Linked DNA regions of Homo sapiens: region 1 is linked to region 2. Evidence: promoter capture Hi-C in human tissues and cell types (Jung and others, 2019). All regions are on one chromosome and are shown on one strand. Each heading gives the region's core, a stretch centred on a gene start or on the middle of the fragment in contact. The rest is flanking DNA. Distances are from core to core; before and after follow the strand shown.

The links. The method cuts DNA at HindIII sites, captures the fragments that hold promoters and counts their contacts. A contact is called where the count stands out against the background at its distance.
Region 1: a fragment that was not itself captured here is called in contact with the fragment with the promoter of DEFB103B in region 2 in 4 of the 25 tissues and cell types used here (H1 embryonic stem cells, mesenchymal stem cells, mesendoderm cells and 1 more).

The regions. Positions count from the first base shown.
Region 1 is chr8:7,395,170-7,399,181 of GRCh38, reverse strand. No RefSeq gene overlaps it. Among named protein-coding and RNA genes, the nearest start is that of ZNF705G, 12 kb to the right of the region's middle. RefSeq lists enhancers at 2,421-2,997, 2,998-3,574. The HindIII fragment of the contact is 6,506 bases long and covers 1-4,012 here.
Region 2 is chr8:7,428,281-7,432,357 of GRCh38, reverse strand. DEFB103B (defensin beta 103B) reads left to right here and starts at 2,010. Exons shown (of 2, transcript NM_018661.4): 1 at 2,010-2,285; 2 at 3,229-3,470. The coding sequence starts at 2,228. The coding sequence ends at 3,374. The HindIII fragment of the contact is 16,895 bases long and covers 1-4,077 here.

The DNA.
Region 1 (4,012 bases), core at 753-3,252, 33 kb after region 2:
GGGATTACAGGCGTGACCCACCGCGTAAAGGCATTTTCTAATGACAATAACAAAAACTAAGAGAATTCCTCACTAGCAAACTTGTAGTATAAAACAAGACCCAAATACACGCTGTCTATAAAAACCCAATGTCTTTATCAAATATAAGGACAAAGATAGGTTGATAGTAAAGGGACAGAAAGAGTTATAGTATGGAAACATTAATCTAATGAAAACAGAATTAGCTGTATCGGCTAACTGACTATAAATCAAAGTAGATTTTACAGCAAGGTGTATTATTACTGATAAAGAGCCTATGTTTTCCAGTGATAAAGTTGTTAAATCACCAAGAACACATATCATTATTATTAAATTAGTATGCACCTAATAAGAGAATCTCAAAATTTTTAAAAAGAAATTGATAGAACTAAGAGAAGAAATTGAAAAATTAAGAATTACCATTGAATATTTCAACACTTTTTTCTTTGAAATAGTTTTTTTAGCAGCAAAGTATAAATAAAGATAGAGAGAACTTGAACAACAGTATCATCCATTATGACCTATATAAGCTTTACAGGACACTCCTCCCAATAACAGTAAAATGCATTGAAATATTACCTAAGAGAGCTCATATTGGACTAAGAAACAAAAAAATCAAAACAATTTAAAATCATATGTAGCGTAATGTCTATCCACAGTGGAATGTATGAAGCTGTGACTAAAGGAAAATAGCTGGAAAATTCCTCACATATTTGGACATTACTCAACATATTTCTAATGAGTCAAAGGAGAAATTTAAAAATATTTTCACATGACAGCAAATGGAAACATAACATACCAAAATTTGTGGCAATACAACAAAAGCAGTGCTTGGAGGGAAATTGATAACATTAACTGCTATTATGATGCGAAGTCGAAAGCTCAGAAATAGACAATCTAATATTCCATTGTAAAAAACCTGGGGAAAAAAGAACTAATTAAGCTGAAAGTAAATAGGAAAACGAGTGAATAAAAAAGAATGTGGACACAAAAGAGAATATTAAAAATAAATAAACGAAAGCTACTTGCTTGAGAGAATGCATAAAATTGTGAGAACTCTCGATAGGTTCCTTAAGGGGAAAAAGGAAATTACTAGAAGTCTCAGGTGCACACCCAGGCTTCAGGCAGGCAGGAAACAGATTAGGTCTGCGTTTCAGGGTCATGTAGTCAGGCCGCCACGAGGTGGCAGTAACTGCGCGCTCATTCCCTCACCTCCTGCAAGGCCGGGCCAGGCTGTGGACTCACCGCTCAGCTCAGGAGATGGGAGAGGGTGACAGTAGCCGCGTGGACTCTGGCCTTACGCAGAGCGTTACTGTAGCTTTGGGGTTGTAGGAGGATGAAGAGGGGGAGGTTATCAGGACACCATGGTGATTGTGTGGTGCTGGTTAGGAACATGGGCTTTGAAGAGAGAGGGATTTTATTTCAAATTCCATCTCTGCCACTTAGTAGTCAGATGACATTGAACATGTCCTCTAACCTTTCTAGGCCCCAGGACCTGCCTCTGTAAACTTGGGTAATAACCCCCTGGCATGTTTGCTTCTGAGGATTAAATGAGATAACTTGTATAAAAATGGCCACGGCAAGGCCGGCTGCAAAATTCCCAAGGCTCAGTGCAAAGTGGAAATGCAGGGCGCCTTGTTCAAAGAGCAGCAGAAGAAAGTGTCGTGAAAGGCAGGAGGGTATTCAGCTTTCTCAAGCCAGTATGTTTCATCATTTGAAAAGTGTAATAGGGATAATACTTCTAGAAGAGTAAGAACAGAATCATATAAATCCCCACCAGAAACCAGTGTCACAGTTTTAATAGAATAAATAATAATACTTTATTAATTGGATCTAGATGAATCAAACAATTTTTCTGGCCAACTTTTCTGCAATTAATTTATTAGGTCATCAAACTTTATACCTTGAGCAACTTCATTTTTTCTTCTGAAAAGAATCTGCTGAAGCAACTGTTTCTGGAATATTATCTAAACTCTGACAATATTGGGATAAACTATTTTGACACAAATTTTAGTATATCTGTAGCTGGTGGTTCTTGTGGAGCTATTTTTTTCAAAGCATATAACTGTTTAAGCAAATCAGTTTTATGGAAGTTTGAATTTAATTTTAAGTGTAAATTTCTCCAATGGAATTTTGATGCATCTTCTGACATGTTCTGTAAGTTGCAGAGGCCCACAGCAGACCAAATGTGGCGTCATGATTTGTAACTTACTCAAAACTCCTGTTTTTGAATTCTATTGTTGTATCTTTAACAAGAAGAACTGAATTTTTAAAATTGCTCTACTTGTTAATAATTGATTGATCAGAAGTGTTATTTTCTTTTCTTTTCTTTTCTTTTTGAGGTAGGGTCTCCATCTGTTGACATGATCATGGCTCACTGCAGCCTCAGACTCCTGAACTCGTATGATCTTCCTACCTCAGCCTCCCAAGTAGCTAAGACTACGGGCATGTGCCACTGTGCTCAGCTAATCTTTTTTTTTTTTTTTTAATGTTGGGGTCTAACTATACTGCCCACTATACTGCCTATGGTGGTCTCCAACAACTGGCTTCAAACAGTCCTCTAACCAGAGCTTCACAATGTGCTGGGATAACAGGTGTGACCCACCATGCCTGTCCCATCAGAAGTTTTGTGACTATCATTATATATTTAATTTATATTTCTGAGCCTTGGATAACTCCTTGAAGAACTCTAAACTCTCTGAGGAATTCCAAGAACTCCCTGGCATACTCTTTCACAATGTCCATGGGCACACTTTTGTTTTGTGCTTCTCTCCTCCCAATTTGCTATCTGAGCCCTATGATTCCTGTCCTGGTGCTCAGGTCAGGGGGTAGATATTCGTGCAGAAGCTCCAAGGATGACTCTGAGAATGCACAGGCACAGAGGTGTCAGTGCTGCGTCCACACAGAGACCCTCCTTTCACCCCAGGGCTGAGGACACCTGCTGCTGCGGCTGCCACCTCCCATCCTGGTCCGTTGCCATCTTCCTTCCCAGTCGAGATGTGCCTGGGCCGCTCCAAAGCACCCGTGCTCAGGGCAGCAAGCTCCAACATGTGGCCTTCATGTCCCTGGGCCTGAGCCTGCCCACCTTGTCCCCCCTCATAGCCACTCTGCTCATGTGCCTGCTCCATTGTCTCAGTGGGCTTCACTTACAAAATGAAGTTCAAAGAAAAAAAACTAAGGTCAAGAGGGTGTCGGCAGAGCCTGCTACCAGGCACTGGCCCTTCTGAGGGCAGGTCCCTGTGTCACTGCCCAGCCCTCAAGCCCGTGAAGCTGGTCCTGGCTCCAGAATTGAGAGCCAGTAAAACTGCTTCTGTTATTTATCATTGAGGACACAGTGCAGAGAAACTTTGCTTTCTAAAATTATAGATATGAGAGACTTTGCTTTCTGGGAGCCTATCTAAAGGAATGCCCACTCTTGCCTGGGGAACTGAGCCACTTTGCCACAGAAAACAGCCTGTGGTTTGGGAAAAAACCCATATCTGTGCTGGTGGATAGTCTTCCTTGCTGAAGCAAGATAATAACCCTACCTTTAAGACAAAAGTGCTCCTCCCTTGATCTTTATCAAACACACTGTATCACCAGGATGAACACTGCTCTGAAGGAGTCACATCGGGCTGTGCCAGGAAAAAAGAATAGCTGCAACCATAGGAATCTTCATGGGAACAGTCAGCCCAGCTGTCCTTGAGCAACCAGGCCCATGGTCCCTAAGCCTTGGTGGCTTCTTCCCCAGGGACACAGGTGCTGCATTTCACAGTGACTTTCCTATTTCAGAGCAATTTCACCTCCTTCTCTAACAAGGCCTCACAAATGTACTGAGAGCTAGAGAGGACAACAAGTGTAAAACCACAGTGCTGTCAGTGGTTCCTGGGATTGCAACGGGATTATAGGAGAAATTCACACTCTTCTATGGGTGAGTTTTTAAATGCAAGTGTATTACTTTTATAATAATCATGTTAAGTACAGCAGTCATTAAGGACGTATCAATCAGGAGTGA
Region 2 (4,077 bases), core at 761-3,260:
TTATAATTTTCTTAAAACAGGTAAGTCCCCCTCAAAACGGATTTTGTGTGTCTGGAGTATGTCCAAACTTGAAAAGGCTGATTGTCACAGCCCAATCTCCAATTCCCAGCTCCCAAACTAGTTGACAAGAAAAAGTGGCATTTTTCCTCACCAAGGAACTTTTATGAAATAGTGGTGTTGCCATAAAAATGCCTCCCAGTCTATGAAGGAACAGGTTAGACCAGGGGTTCACCTGTGGAAGTCTATTCTCCATGTGGAAAAGCAAGTCATCTCCAGCGTCTGACTGTCCTCACCCCAGGCTGAGAGCTGGTGCTAACCCTCTACAACGCCCAATGCCATCGTTATGTCTGACATAGTAAGACTGTGAAGTCAGCACCCATCCCACCCACACTCACCTCCTTCCCCCATTTATAAATATCTCCAATTGCTTTGTCTCAAATCATGAACTAAAGAGGAAAGTTAGATTTTAAAAAGTAGCATCTACCTATCTAAAGTCTTAAATCTGCTGATTGAGCTCCACTCTTGGCTCAAAGAGTTATCTTTGAGTTATGATGAGTTATCTTTCTTCTACGTTTCTGCAGCCCTGTGCTTGAAATCTTCCTATGACTCCCATTATAATTCATCCTAAATTTATCATTTGACTGTCTGCCCATCTACCTGGCCCTACATGGAGCTTCTGGAGAGAAAGAACCAAGACTGGTCCCTCTTGGTATCTCATCCACTTCACCCTCACCTATGCTGAAGACATGATACTTGTCCCTTCCTATAGTATGTGTTCAGAGTTTTCTTACTGAATCTGACAGGTGTGGTGCACCCAAATTCTGAACACACACTCCCAGAACTAACACACCCTTGATCCTTAGTGGATCCGTTATAATTGCATTCACACGAAGCAGCAGCTAGGAGACATCACGGTGACTTCAGCTCCCAATTGAATTGTCATTGACTTACTTAGTTCCCAATTGATAGTCAACCAAATACAACCCATCCATTGGATTCCTGAACATTTAAGTTTAATAGCTGTTTTTTTTTTCTTTTTTAGCATTTTTCCCTCTAAACGTTGAATCTATATGCAGGGGAAATCATCTGGCCCCTGGACTGCCTTGAATGCTCCTGAGCCAAGAGTAACTTGAGGTCTTAAATGTCTATTCTGAAGCCCCTCTTTTGCACAGGGACAGTCATTGACTAGGAGGAGATGCCAGTCTATTAAATCTATCATCCCAGCATCCTCTTTCTCTGATGAAGTAAAATTAAACACCTTCTTTACTCATAAATTTGGTAGGTTTTAGACAATGATGAAGAATCGGACATGGGCCGCACACAGTGGCTCATACCAGTAATCCCAGCAATTTAGGAGGCTGAAGCAGGAGGATTGCTTGAGCCCAGGAGTTCACATCTGGGCTCGAAACCAGTCTGGGCAGCATAGTGAGACCCCATTTTATTTTCTACAGAAAATTTAAAATTTAGCCATGTGTGGAGGTATGCGTTTGTGGTCCCAGCTACTCAGGGGGCTGAAGTGGGAGGACCTCTTGAGCCTGACAGCTCAAGCTGTTGTGAGCTGTAATCATGCCACTGCACTCCAGCCTGCACAAAAAAGTGAGACTCTGTCTCTCAAAAAAAAAAAAAAAAAATGAAAGAATGAGACATGTTTCACTCAAATTATAGCACCCCATCATAGGCCAAGGGCCAGGTGGTCAGCTAACCTTGAATGTAGCCCATTTTCCTCCCTTACCTCACTACCAAAAAGCCAGTCCTATTGCCAGATATTGAATATGTCCAGGGCTGGATTTATTTGGTCCCCAGGAGGGTCTTAGACTCTCCCAGCATTTTAGGAAGAGAAAAAAAGCTCCAAAGCAGCAAAGTACGGACAAGTCAGCCCCCAGCCACATGCCCTGAGACTATTCCCCAAAGGGGGCATACTTGCTCATGCCAGCCCTATCTGTACCCACAACCCAATCTGACCCACACCCAGACAAGCCCCTGGAGTCCAGAGAGCACCCGGACAGCCACAAATCCATAGGGAGCTCTGCCTTACCATTGGGTTCCTAATTAACTGAGTGAGTGGGTGTGTTCTGCATGGTGAGAGGCATTGGAATGATGCATCAGAAAACATGTCATAATGTCATCACTGTAATATGACAAGAATTGCAGCTGTGGCTGGAACCTTTATAAAGTGACCAAGCACACCTTTTCATCCAGTCTCAGCGTGGGGTGAAGCCTAGCAGCTATGAGGATCCATTATCTTCTGTTTGCTTTGCTCTTCCTGTTTTTGGTGCCTGTTCCAGGTAAGATGGGCTGGGAAATCTAAGGATTGATCTAATTGAGAATATATAATTCAGAGTCAGTATTTCTCCATCCTTCAGAGTGCTTTGGACCAAGCAGGTTTGTTGTATGGGAACTAGGCATCACCACTTTTTTTTCAGACAAGAATCATTAAGAGGCCAGGTGCGGTGGCTCATGCCTGTAATCTCAACACTTTGGGAGGCCGAGGTGGGCGGATCACGAGGTCAGGAGTTCAAGACCAGCCTGGCCAAGATGGTGAAACCCCATCTCTACTAAAAATACAAAAATTATCTGGGCACAGTGGCGGGCACCTGTAATCCCAGCTACTCGGGAGGCTGAGGCAGAGAATTGCTTAAACCTGGCAGGCGGAGGTTGCAGTAAGCCGAGATCACGCCACTGTCCTCCAGACTGGGTGACAGGGTGAGAGTACACCTCAAAAAAAAAAAAAAAGAAAAGAATCATTAAGAAACTAAATAGCTCCCCAAAGCTATCTCTTTCCCCAACTCTTCAAGGGAAGATTATTATACCAGCTGATGAGACATGAATCAGACATAAAAGTTTAATGTAGCAGGAAAGATTGATTTACTCTGAGAATAGAAGCACAGGCTCCTGTTCTACTAAGTGCAATGGTTGGAGGTGGAGTGTTGGGGCTACCTCTGAGGACACCACAGCCTCAGCACCCCCACTGTTCCTGCGGCAGTCACAGGGTCACGCCACTTCCCCGGTGCCACTGTGGGTCCACAGCTGAGCTGCAGCCTTAGAAACATTGTCTATGGGTTGTGTAGTCATACCTTCATCTTCCTCCTGATTTTATAGAAAAAGGAAAAAGAAACAAAAGAATACAAGAAAAGCAAGGGATGAGTTATTTGAGGAATTCCACAAGCCTTGTACGTGTACCAAAAGCCTTCCTAAAACCTTTCCGTGTGTGCTGTTTTGTCATTGCAGGTCATGGAGGAATCATAAACACATTACAGAAATATTATTGCAGAGTCAGAGGCGGCCGGTGTGCTGTGCTCAGCTGCCTTCCAAAGGAGGAACAGATCGGCAAGTGCTCGACGCGTGGCCGAAAATGCTGCCGAAGAAAGAAATAAAAACCCTGAAACATGACGAGAGTGTTGTAAAGTGTGGAAATGCCTTCTTAAAGTTTATAAAAGTAAAATCAAATTACATTTTTTTTTCAAAAAAAATTAGGAGCTTGATTTTTTTTTTTAAATCTGATTATTTTGGTACTTGTTTCCAAACAGACAACTCAGAAAATCTTAAGGACTCACCTTTCGTTCAAAGAAAGTAGAATCTCTGGAGAAATCTATAAGGGAGCCCAACCTTATTATCCAAGGGTTATCAGGTTCTATTCCTACTTTGTGAACGTTATGCCCCAGTGAAGTTGGACTCTTCACTCTCTTGGAATATGCCCTTTGCTTTCATGTCATCCAAGCCTTGGGCCTTTTCAGTCCCTCTACCCCAAATGGCATCTCTCCACCAAATCTATCTCTAAGGTTTTCATGCATCCCTCAGGGGCTATCCCAATTCCTTCCAAAAACTTTGTCTTCAGAGAAATAAGGAAACTGGCTCTTCCTCAGATATTCACTTTGCTTTCTCTCACCCATGCCTCTGCTCTGGTTGACCTCATGTCTGCCTCACTCCTCCAACTTCATCTCTAAACTTTAACCTGTCCTTCAGGGACCGTCTCACATTTTATCTCCACCTTAAAAACACAGGTGATTTCCCAAATGCTTACAGTCTTTCCTCTGGTTCACCACAGGGTTCTGACTTGAGTCCTCCATCTACAACCCT